3 separate regions of the Homo sapiens genome follow, and regions 2 and 3 are each linked to region 1. The links are contacts of gene promoters, found by promoter capture Hi-C in human tissues and cell types (Jung and others, 2019). All regions are on one chromosome and are shown on one strand. The core of a region is centred on a gene start or on the middle of the fragment in contact, and the rest is flanking DNA. Distances in the headings are between cores, read along the strand shown.

Region 1 (3,478 bases), core at 288-2,787:
GACACAAGGTAGGCATTCTTTAAATGTGGAAAGAATGGCTAAGGGAAGCAAGAATAATGTGAGAATAAGCACAGAGTAGCAGTGAATGTGGTATACATAGGGAAAAGTGAAGGAAAAGGGTGTCCAGAGACGCGGGCTCTCTGTACTGATTGTGCGGAAACCGGAGTTAACTCACAATTTTCAGTGGCACTAGCACTGTCAAGTGCTTTGTTTGTTGTTTGTTTTTTCACCCAAGAAAGGAAGATGTTCAGACTACAGATTGTGGTCAAGAAATTATATATTTTAGGTGAACAAACAGCGAGGTTTGGACATGAAGGAAGGCACATACACTGCACAGAGAAACAGCTCTTCCCAACTCTAAAATTTAGACGTTTATTTGGGAAATTTTGTTGGGCAGTCTAAATGCAGGAAGATTAAAAAGGACTTGGAAAATCAACAGGGTATCCTGCCTTCATGATGCTGTGAGGCATTGTGCCCCAGAGTGAAAACTGCATTTTTGTGAGTTGGTGTGGCAGGCTTGGAATACCACCTCTTTCAGCAGCTCACTCAGGTCTGGCGAGGGCTATTTGTACCTCAACGAGGGCTTCTCTCCAAGAAAGCCCTGAATCCTTTTCCTCCTTTTTCCTGCAGATTCACTATAGGACACTTTTTGAAGCAAGAGCATGCATTTTCCCCCTGGCGCTCTGCAGCGGTTCTCAGAGCCCAGTGTCACTCACATAGGTGGGACTGCTCTCAGTTCAGAGAGCGCTGGGACACTTAAGATGAAAAGTCCCTGGAAGTTAGCAAACAGCCATCTGTCACTCTGGCATCGATTTACTAAAAGTGACTTCTAGGGTATTCTAAACCACTTTTAAAAAACAAATGAGTCACTTCGACTTCCTCACCCCGCAAGAGATAGGAAGGCAGCAGTGGAGTGCTCGCTCAGGAGCTGTATTTGTTTAGCGATTAGCCTAGAGCTTTGATTTTAGGGCAAAAGCGAGCCAGACAGTGCGGCAGACGTAAGGATCAAAAAGGCCACCTATCATTCGCCGGGGACGCCTGCCTCCTTACCCTGATAACGTAACTATTTCTCTGCATAGGATTTTAGTTTTTGTGTTTTTGTTTTGTTTTATTCTGTTTAATCACTTCAAGTATCTCATCCATTATTTGAAGCGGGCTCGGAGGAAACGTGCCGCATCCTCCAGTCCTTGTGCGTCTGTTTAGGTCTCTCCGAAGCAGGTCCCTCTCGACTCTTAGATCTGGGTCTCCAGCACGCATGAAGGGGTAAGGGTGGGGGGGTCCCCTATTCCGGCGCGCGGCGTTGAGCACTGAATCTTCCAGGCGGAGGCTCAGTGGGAGCGCCGAGAACTCGCCAGTACCGCGCGCTGCCTGCTGCCTGCTGCCTCCCAGCCCAGGACTTGGGAAAGGAGGGAGGGGACAAGTGGAGGGAAAGTGGGGCCGGGCGGGGGGTGCCTGGGAAGCCAGGCTGCGCTGACGTCACTGGGCGCGCAATTCGGGCTGGAGCGCTTTAAAAAACGAGCGTGCAAGCAGAGATGCTGCTCCACACCGCTCAGGCCGCGAGCAGCAGCAAGGCGCACCGCCACTGTCGCCGCTGCAGCCAGGGCTGCTCCGAAGGCCGGCGTGGCGGCAACCGGCACCTCTGTCCCCGCCGCGCTTCTCCTCGCCGCCCACGCCGTGGGGTCAGGAACGCGGCGTCTGGCGCTGCAGACGCCCGCTGAGTTGCAGAAGCCCACGGAGCGGCGCCCGGCGCGCCACGGCCCGTAGCAGTCCGGTGCTGCTCTCCGCCCGCGTCCGGCTCGTGGCCCCCTACTTCGGGCACCATGGACACCTCCCGGCTCGGTGTGCTCCTGTCCTTGCCTGTGCTGCTGCAGCTGGCGACCGGGGGCAGCTCTCCCAGGTCTGGTGTGTTGCTGAGGGGCTGCCCCACACACTGTCATTGCGAGCCCGACGGCAGGATGTTGCTCAGGGTGGACTGCTCCGACCTGGGGCTCTCGGAGCTGCCTTCCAACCTCAGCGTCTTCACCTCCTACCTGTAAGTACTTCCCCACGTCACTCCGGGAGAGAGACTAAGAGGGGAAGGAAGGTTCGTCCAAGGCGAGGCTGGAGGCTCCTCGGCGCCCGCCTGCTCGTGGGGGAGGGGGGCGAGTTTGTCAAGGGCATCCTGGCCAGGCCTGTTAGGGCCCCCAGAGAAATGCACGTGTCTCGGGGAGTAGCGTGCCGGCACTTTCTGGACCCGCAGAGAAATGGCTTCGAGTGCAACCCGGGAAAGCGCTGCTGCGCCGCAGCTTCCCAGTCCAGCGCTAGAAACATCGCAGGGCGAATTCCTGCAAATGCAGGCATTTGCGTGCGGAGTGGACATTTGTGACCCAGAGCCTGGTACCCAAAGGCAGGCTGCCATCTGGTCCCCGCCCCAACCGCCTCTCTGCGTCTAGTCGCATTCCACGAAAAGATGGTCTGTAGAAAGTTTCCCCAAAGGAGAAACAACTTGCCCAGCTCCAAAGGGTTTTTAGTCTGCATCCCTTGCACTGTGACGTGATGTAACCTTTTTGGGGTTTTTTCCTCTTTTCCTCCCTTCCTTCCTCCCTTCTTCCTTCCTTCCCTCCCTCCTTTCTTTTTATTTTCTTTCTTTTTTAACGGCGTGATTAAAATGTGGCAACCACAAACCCCGATTAGAGCTGCCAGAACGTTATCTTTACCTTTGGCTGCCCGCGCCGCCCTTTGAAGTGCCCGCGGCCGCTGTGTAATCTTTAACCATCTCTTCCCCCGGGGAGGAAAGGGGAAGTGGGCTGAAGGCTGTTGGGCTGGTAAACAGCGGCACCGACACCCAAAGGGAGACCTGAAGCTCTCTATCATCCCTGGGGGATTCTCCCACCCCTTCTCTCCCCACTGCAACTTCCAAAGCCCTGAGGCGGCGGCTCATTGCGTAATTTTTTCTGTGGAAAACCCAGGCCCGAAGGTAACAGGTAGTTGGGTGAACGCGGTGACCCAGGAGGAACCCTATTCTCGGAGACCAAGGCGACTACTCTCTCCACCCCCGTGCAAAGCATCTGGGGCTTCATTCCTTCCAGCAGAGAGGCCAGGTTCTAGGCCACTCTGGGAAACAGGTGCTCCTTACCACAAGGTGAAACATTTAGGTTTTAGATCAAGACATTGCAGCGAGCCCACCCCAAGCCCATGCAGTCCCAGTTTTCGGCTTCTCTGATGTACCTTGGCAGGAGAGAGTTGGGATGTTTGTGAACCAGTTCTTCCATCTGTTTAGTTGTTTTCTGGAGGGAAGAAACATGAAGAGGCTTGCACAACATTTTCCACTAGGTAGTGATTCTTTTTCTGGAGACAGAGTGAGGAAGAAAAAAACATCTTTTACTTGCTTTAATATTGTCTTTAAAGAAAGGTACCATTCTGCTAGATTTTAGGATTGGTAGATGGCAGGTCGCCTCCTCCTCTACCATAAAGCTATTTTGACTGCTTTTTCTTTTTT
Region 2 (3,277 bases), core at 132-2,631, 190 kb after region 1:
AAGACCTAGAATATCAAGGGATAGAAACAAGTTGCTTTTATACCAAGAACATAAAATAGTTTAAACAGAAAAAAAACCTTGTATTCTAAAAGTAGTTTCTCACCACATAATAAAATACTATATAATACCGGTATTTCTTACACACATTACCAGCCAAGACAAGAAAATCTGGAAAAAGTCTATATTACCTGGAAGGTGCTTTACAATTTTAAGATAAAAACATGCAACCCTTTAACATTCTCACAACTTTTAAAAGTCTAAATGGGGGACCCACAAAGTTAATCATATGAAAATGTCTAAATAAATTTTATGAAGGCTGGCCAATGCACTTCTTAGACTGAATAACAGTAAAATTAAAAATCAAAAATTAAAAAAAACCTCTAAGATTCCAATTATTTTTCCTAAAATTCCTAACAAACAGAAATCCAAAATTCTCCACACTTCTACCAATAGCCAGAAACTGGAATTTGATACGAACTGATAAATCCAAGAGTGTGGTTTGAGCCCAACGGCAGGACACTTAATTTTTATGTTCCTTAAAAGGGTAAGTCTGGTTATCAATAGCAATGATTCAATTGCTTTTTCATTATCATCAAATATTCAAGATAAAATATTAAAAACCAAACAGAAATCCTGAAATTCAAGCTTATTGAATCTTTCTTTTATACCTGTAGGACTTAAAAACTAGAAGAGGACTATGGTAGGGTCTAAAAGGACATGGCTTCACTTCCATTGTTTTACTTTGTGCTGTGACAAAATCCACATCTACAGAAATCTCCTGCAAAAGAAAATAATAATTCTGTAAGGCAAATAAGGCTGGGTGAATTCCAGATTTTAAAGAAAATATGAAATGTTCAGTTACCTGACCATGCAAAACCTTCTCTGTAATGCCTGTGGTGGTTTTTAAAATCAGCTGTTTTAGGCTGTCAGCTTTTGAATACAATTTTTGCAATTCACCAATTTTTAACCCTAGAAAAAGTTCTGGTTTTTCTACAGTATTTTTATTAAGTTTGTTTATGCATTCTTTGTTAGCAGTATCAGTGTGCTTAAGGTTAGGTTTAGTAAAATAATTGGATTCTAAAAAAGATCTTCTTCGCTCTCTGCTTGAACCAGACAAAATTTCATCATCAACATCATTTTCTTCAGTGTCCAGGGTTAATTTATCTTGTGTCAGATCATGAAGTGAGGGTTGAGGTAAAGAAAATTCGGGTTCCTCTTCCACAACTGGAGAGATATTTTGTTGTTCCTTTGCTTTAAGGGCACGGGCTTCTTTTAATTTTTGAATTTTCAGGGCATATTCATATTCTAGCTTTTGTAACCGTCTTTTCTCCATAGCAATTAGTTCTGCTGAATGCTTTCTTGGACTTGATACTGGAGAACTGTCCAGTCTCATCATTTTGTTTGGCTAAGGGAGAAAAATGATACACGTATTTTACATCACTGTGATTTTATAAACAATTTTTGGTAAGATAATTGTGCTATCCCCACCATACAATGCCAACATTATAAAACTAAATCAATATGGAGAATAAAACAGAGTTTAACATAAGTAGCCAAAAGTTTTGCTAGTTAATCTATGACTTATGACAAAAACAAAGTCAAGACAAAATAATAAAGTAGACATCCAAAAATGTGGATGTCATTTAAAAACAAAGCTTTAATCTTAATCTCTTGGAATTTACAGCAAAGAGTTACTTTATATATACATCTTACCCTTAAAACTATCATAAAAACTTTCTGCTTTCCAAAAGTAAAATATTTCTATAAAACCCTCACCCCAAAGCGATCTTGTTCCAGTTTACGTTTTCCTATTTCTTTACTGGCCACTGCCTTTGCCCGAGCAAGCTCTTCTCCATATTTTAGAGTCAAAGCTTTCTTAATTGTAACACGCTGTTGAACTCTGTGAATCTGAAAAATATAGAATAATCCTGAAAATGTAAATGAAAACCTTAAAACAGGAAATTTCTTCTTCTCAAACACCGTGGCTTTTGAGCATTCAACTGAAAATAAAAATATTCCAATATTATTTCTCAACAAGAAACTATAGGTTATGCATATTTTGCTGGCTTTAGTATACAGTGGTTTGTCTTACAGAAAATTTGGCCTATAAAAATGTGTAGTAAACAGGAGACTACAGTATTTTAAAATAATTACTTGTTCCTGAAGCTTCTTCAAAAACATTCTGTTAACATTAAGAATTTTTTCAGTTGCTTGAAGCTGTTCTGTAAGTTTTGTAATCTTTGCTTCAGCATTTCTAACAGATTCTTTCTTCTTAGCTTCTTGTTGCACTAAATTCTTTAAAACAGATTCATCTTTCATCAAGAGAATCCTAAATGAGAAATAACAAAATTCTTGTTAATGTTTCCCTACAAGAGCAGACTGTCAGAATAAAAAAATTTTCAAAGTAATAACACAATTTTTAAAAATGCATCTACGAGACACAGATAAAAATGTAAAGGGATGAATATTTTTATATTCATCACACAGGTATTTAAATTAACATTGCTACACTGATAATAGTAACTATGAGACTGATCTTTTAAAAAAAAAAATTTAAGCCTGAGGTAACGTGAATTACTGTTGAAAACTTGTAGTAAATATTCAACGTTGGGCCAGGCACAGTGGGAATGCATTTCCCTAGTTCAAGCGATTCTCCCGCCTCAGCCTCCCAAGTAGCTGGGATTACAAGGCATGCACCACCATGCCCAGCTAATTTTTTTGTATTTTTAGTAGAGACAGGGTTTCACCGTGTTGGCCAGGCTAGTCTCAAACTCCTGATCTCAAGTGATCCACCCACCTCGGCCTCTCAAATTGCTATGATTATAGGCGTGAGCCACCGCGCCTGGCCGGTATTTTTATTTAAACATTAATTTCATTACTTTATGTAAATGTAGTGTCATTCAACAAAATGACAGACTTCTACATTCTACAAAGTTTAAGTGAGAAAATGTATAATCTTATAGTACGCTTATTAATAACATACACCACAAAAATGTATTTCTCTACCACAGGAACAATTAGATATGTGAAGATAACAAGGCTCACCTATGTTTTTTCAGTTTTGATTCTGCATCTGTAACCTGCTTAGTAACCATTGCTATCCTGCCAATACCATCAATTTCCACATCAGAGTTTGCTGGGGATGATGAACTTGTCTTCAGCTGATCTGATTTAATCAAACGCTGTTTCTCACGGCTAAAATTATCAAAAAGGATATATGCATTACACCCAAGAATAAACTTAAACTATTTTTAAAATGTATTCTATTTCATGCAGT
Region 3 (3,614 bases), core at 620-3,119, 210 kb after region 1:
TCACTCTCCTGTATTAGCACAGGACTCCTTGTTATTCCCCAAACATGTCAGGCATCTTTCTGTATTATGGTCATTTCTCTAGTTCAGCGATGCCCAAACTTCAGCATGTAGCAGAATCAACAGAAGGGCTGGTTAAATACAGATTGCTAGGCCCCATTTGCAGAGCTCCCAGTTCAATAGATCTAAGGTAGAGACTGAGAATTTGTGTTCTGTCAAGTTCCCAGATAACGCAGTCCCCAGGAACCACACTTTGAAAATCACTGCTCTAGTTATTCCTTTTGCATAGGAGCCTCTTCCACCAGATATCCATTTGGCTATTCCTTTACTGTCTTCAAAGTCTTTCTTTAAATCTCACCTTCAAATAGACACCATGCTGACCACCCTATTAGTGCTGCAACCTGTATCCTCAATAACCCTTTCCTACCTACCCTGCTATACTTTTTCTCTTTCATAACAGTTAATTTACACATCATGTTTACTGTTTTGCCTTCTAAAATGTAAGCCCATGAAAACATAAGTGACTATTTTGTTCACCAATTTATTTCCAAGAGCCTGGAATAAAGTGCTCAACTAATTTTTGAATAAATGGAAGAATGAAATAAAAAACATCCACTAAAATTTGCAATTAGGTCACAGAAAACTACCATGAGTAGTTTCAGTATTGTGATGGGGGTAGAAAAGCAAACTGTATTGGGCTAATAAGGCAATGAGAAGTAAAGTCAAAAGCTGGTACCGACTAGACCTCTCAGAAGTCTTATTGAAAAGAGGAAGAATACTTGACATAATTTAAGAGAGAATGTAGGATGAGGTGGAAGAGGATTTCCATTTTTGGATGGAAAAGTCAAATATATTAAGAACACCCTAAGGAGACAATGGTTCAAGATAAAGCAGAATAAATAAAGCAAGGTCCCAGAGAAGGCAGAAGTTAGAGCCAGGAGAACAAGTTAAAACAAAATGGCCATGAACAAGACAGTCGTTACCCTCAGGGTGAAAGAACTGAAGTGAAAACTGATATGGATTACAAACAAGTTTATGGTCAGAAAGTGAAAAGCTGGAATTGAGTGTGATCACCTCCAATAAGAAGCAAGCTTGTATACGGACAATAATAAAGGTTGAGTAAAAGGCCTGCAAAAATTATGAAGGTATAGAAGAGTTGTCAAGAGATATGGAAAAAAGGCTCACCAATAACATAAGTTTGACAGTAGAGTCTTGCTGAGGATTGGTGGGGAAATATACATGTAGAAACATTTATATATATAATTTACTGATTCAGATGACATTTTAGTTCCTTTGATTTTCCTCCAATCACTCTTCCATACTGATGCCAGTTATTTTTCCAAAACACACATCTGATCACATCATTTTCTTGCTTAAAAATATTTAATAGCCCACCCAACGTTTAAAAGACAAAATTCAAATTCTTTAGCAAAATATTAAAGGCCTTCCCAATCCAACACTAACCTGTCCTTTTATAATTTTATGTCCAACCACTCACCAAAAAAATACCGTTATCTCTCACACTGCACACATATTTGATTAATCTCAATGCCCTTAAAAAGCCCTCTGTGCCTGTCTACTCATTTGATTCCTTCTGACTTCCCCAGTGGAAAAGATTCATCTTTCCAGATGTATATCAAACATTTACATCTCTATGAAACCTTTCTAAATCCAGGTGAGGATATTTAATCCTTCCCGTGTTACTCCAGGCTTTCACACATAACTCATATTATACTCCATGATAGAGATTTGTGTCTTTTCTATCCCTCTGTGTTATACTTCTCAAAACTGCTTGTGTAGAATCATAGTACTAAATTGAAGAGGGGAAAGAAAGGCATCTCCCTGAGAATGTGCAACCCAAAATAATCATCACTTAGGTCTGCAACCAAATTCACACCATATGGACAGCCAGTGAGGGTTGAACTGATTCCAAGGCTGAAGTCTTTAGCAAATTCTCTCTGGGGAATGCATCTTTGTCCCAGGTCTCAAAAACTTCCCACCACTAAAATTCAAAAAAAAACAACGACCATCTCATATTACAACAAAACAAAATCACTAAATGTTCAAGAAAAGAAAGTACCAAAAATGAGTAATAACAAAACAAACATCAGAAATCAAACCCCCAAAGACCTGAGATACTGAAAATTAGCAGGGATAGGAGATAAAACAAAACAGACCTATGGTTAATTTGTTTAAAGAAACAAAGATAAAGCTGAAAATATAAGCAGGGAGAAGAAAAGTGGAAAGAATGATCAAAGTGATTTGAAAACAAAACAAAAATGAAATAGTAAAACAAAAACTGTAATTGAAATGTAAAACTCAGTAAGTGGGCTTAAGGCAAATCGAATACAGCAGAAGAGAGAATCAGTAAAACGAAAGATGTATCAGAGGAAATTTTCCAGAATTTGTCAATTACAAAGTGACAGAAACTTAGAGAAATGAAGAGACATGAAAGATAAAGTATGATGACTTAACATAACATACATCTATACAGAGTTCCAAAAAAGAGAGAGAATGGGATAATATTCTAAGAGATAATGATCATTTTTTCAGAACCACTGCAAGATCCAATCCAGATTCAAGAAACAACAAATTCCAAGCTGGATACATAAAAAGAAATCTACAATCAGCACATCACACAGTTCAACTACAGAATATCAAAGACAAAAAGGATCTTTAAAACAACCAAAGAAAAAAGATTATCTTCAAATTGGAAACCATTAAGACTGATAGATGAGTTTTGAAAATCAACAATGGAAGCCAGAAAATATTGTCAGTAAGAATATAATTAGGGGCTGGGTGTGGTGGCTCATGCCTGTAATCCCAGCACTTTGGGAGGCCAAGGCAGGCGGATCACTTCAGGCCAGGAGTTTGAGACCAGACTGGCCAACATGGCGAAACCCCAGCTCCACTAAATACAAAAATTAGCCGGGCGCAATGGCATGTACCATAGTCCCAGCTACTCAGGAAGCTGAGGCATGAGAATCACTTGAACCCAGGAGGCGGAGGTTGCAATGAGCCAAGATAGTGCCACTGCACTCCAGCCTGGATGACAGGGAAAGACTTTGTCTCAAAAACAAACAAACAAAAAGCATATAATTAAACAACCTAGAATTCTAAACCCAGGGAAAATATCTTTTAAAAAGAGTAAACGGAAATCGTTTTCCACCCAGCAAAAACACATTTTTAAAAAAAAAGTCTAAAGAATGTATTTAAGCACAGAGCATGGTGGCTCACACCTGTAATCCCAGCATTTTAGGAGGCTAAGGCAAGAGGATCATTTGAGCCCAGGAGTTTGAGACCAGCCTAGACAACATACTGAGACCCCGTCTCTACAGAAATTTTTAAAACATAGCCGGGCATGGTAGTACATGCCTGTGGTCCCAGCAACTCAGAAGGCTGAGGTGGGAGGATCACCTGAGCCCAGGAGGTCAAGGCTGCACTGAGTCATGATCATACTCCTGCACTCTAGCCTGGGCAACACAGTGAGATCTTATCTAAAACACACACACACAGAGAATATATTTATACATATATAATTCCAGACATGATACAAAGAGTGAGCCAAGAAAGTGCTAAATATATAGGCAAAGCTAAGCAAATATCATTCTTTGTAT

What was found. The method cuts DNA at HindIII sites, captures the fragments that hold promoters and counts their contacts. A contact is called where the count stands out against the background at its distance.
Region 2: a contact is called between a fragment that was not itself captured here and the fragment with the promoter of LGR5 in region 1, in 4 of the 25 tissues and cell types used here (aorta, hippocampus, small bowel and 1 more).
Region 3: a fragment that was not itself captured here is called in contact with the fragment with the promoter of LGR5 in region 1 in 1 of the 25 tissues and cell types used here (mesendoderm cells).

Annotation. Positions count from the first base shown.
Region 1 is chr12:71,438,261-71,441,738 of GRCh38, forward strand. LGR5 (leucine rich repeat containing G protein-coupled receptor 5) reads left to right here and starts at 1,538. Exons shown (of 18, transcript NM_003667.4): 1 at 1,538-2,032. The coding sequence starts at 1,821. It overlaps LOC124902962 (a long non-coding RNA gene), which reads right to left. Exons shown (of 3, transcript XR_007063364.1): 2 at 3,208-3,327. The HindIII fragment of the contact is 8,401 bases long and covers 1-3,478 here.
Region 2 is chr12:71,631,110-71,634,386 of GRCh38, forward strand. ZFC3H1 (zinc finger C3H1-type containing) reads right to left here. Exons shown (of 35, transcript NM_144982.5): 12 at 3,046-3,195; 13 at 2,155-2,329; 14 at 1,777-1,908; 15 at 863-1,405; 16 at 669-778. Among named protein-coding and RNA genes, the nearest start is that of ZFC3H1, 31 kb to the right of the region's middle. The HindIII fragment of the contact is 3,116 bases long and covers 1-2,939 here.
Region 3 is chr12:71,650,944-71,654,557 of GRCh38, forward strand. All of the region lies in intron 2 of ZFC3H1 (zinc finger C3H1-type containing), which reads right to left. Among named protein-coding and RNA genes, the nearest start is that of ZFC3H1, 11 kb to the right of the region's middle. The HindIII fragment of the contact is 6,167 bases long and covers 1-3,614 here.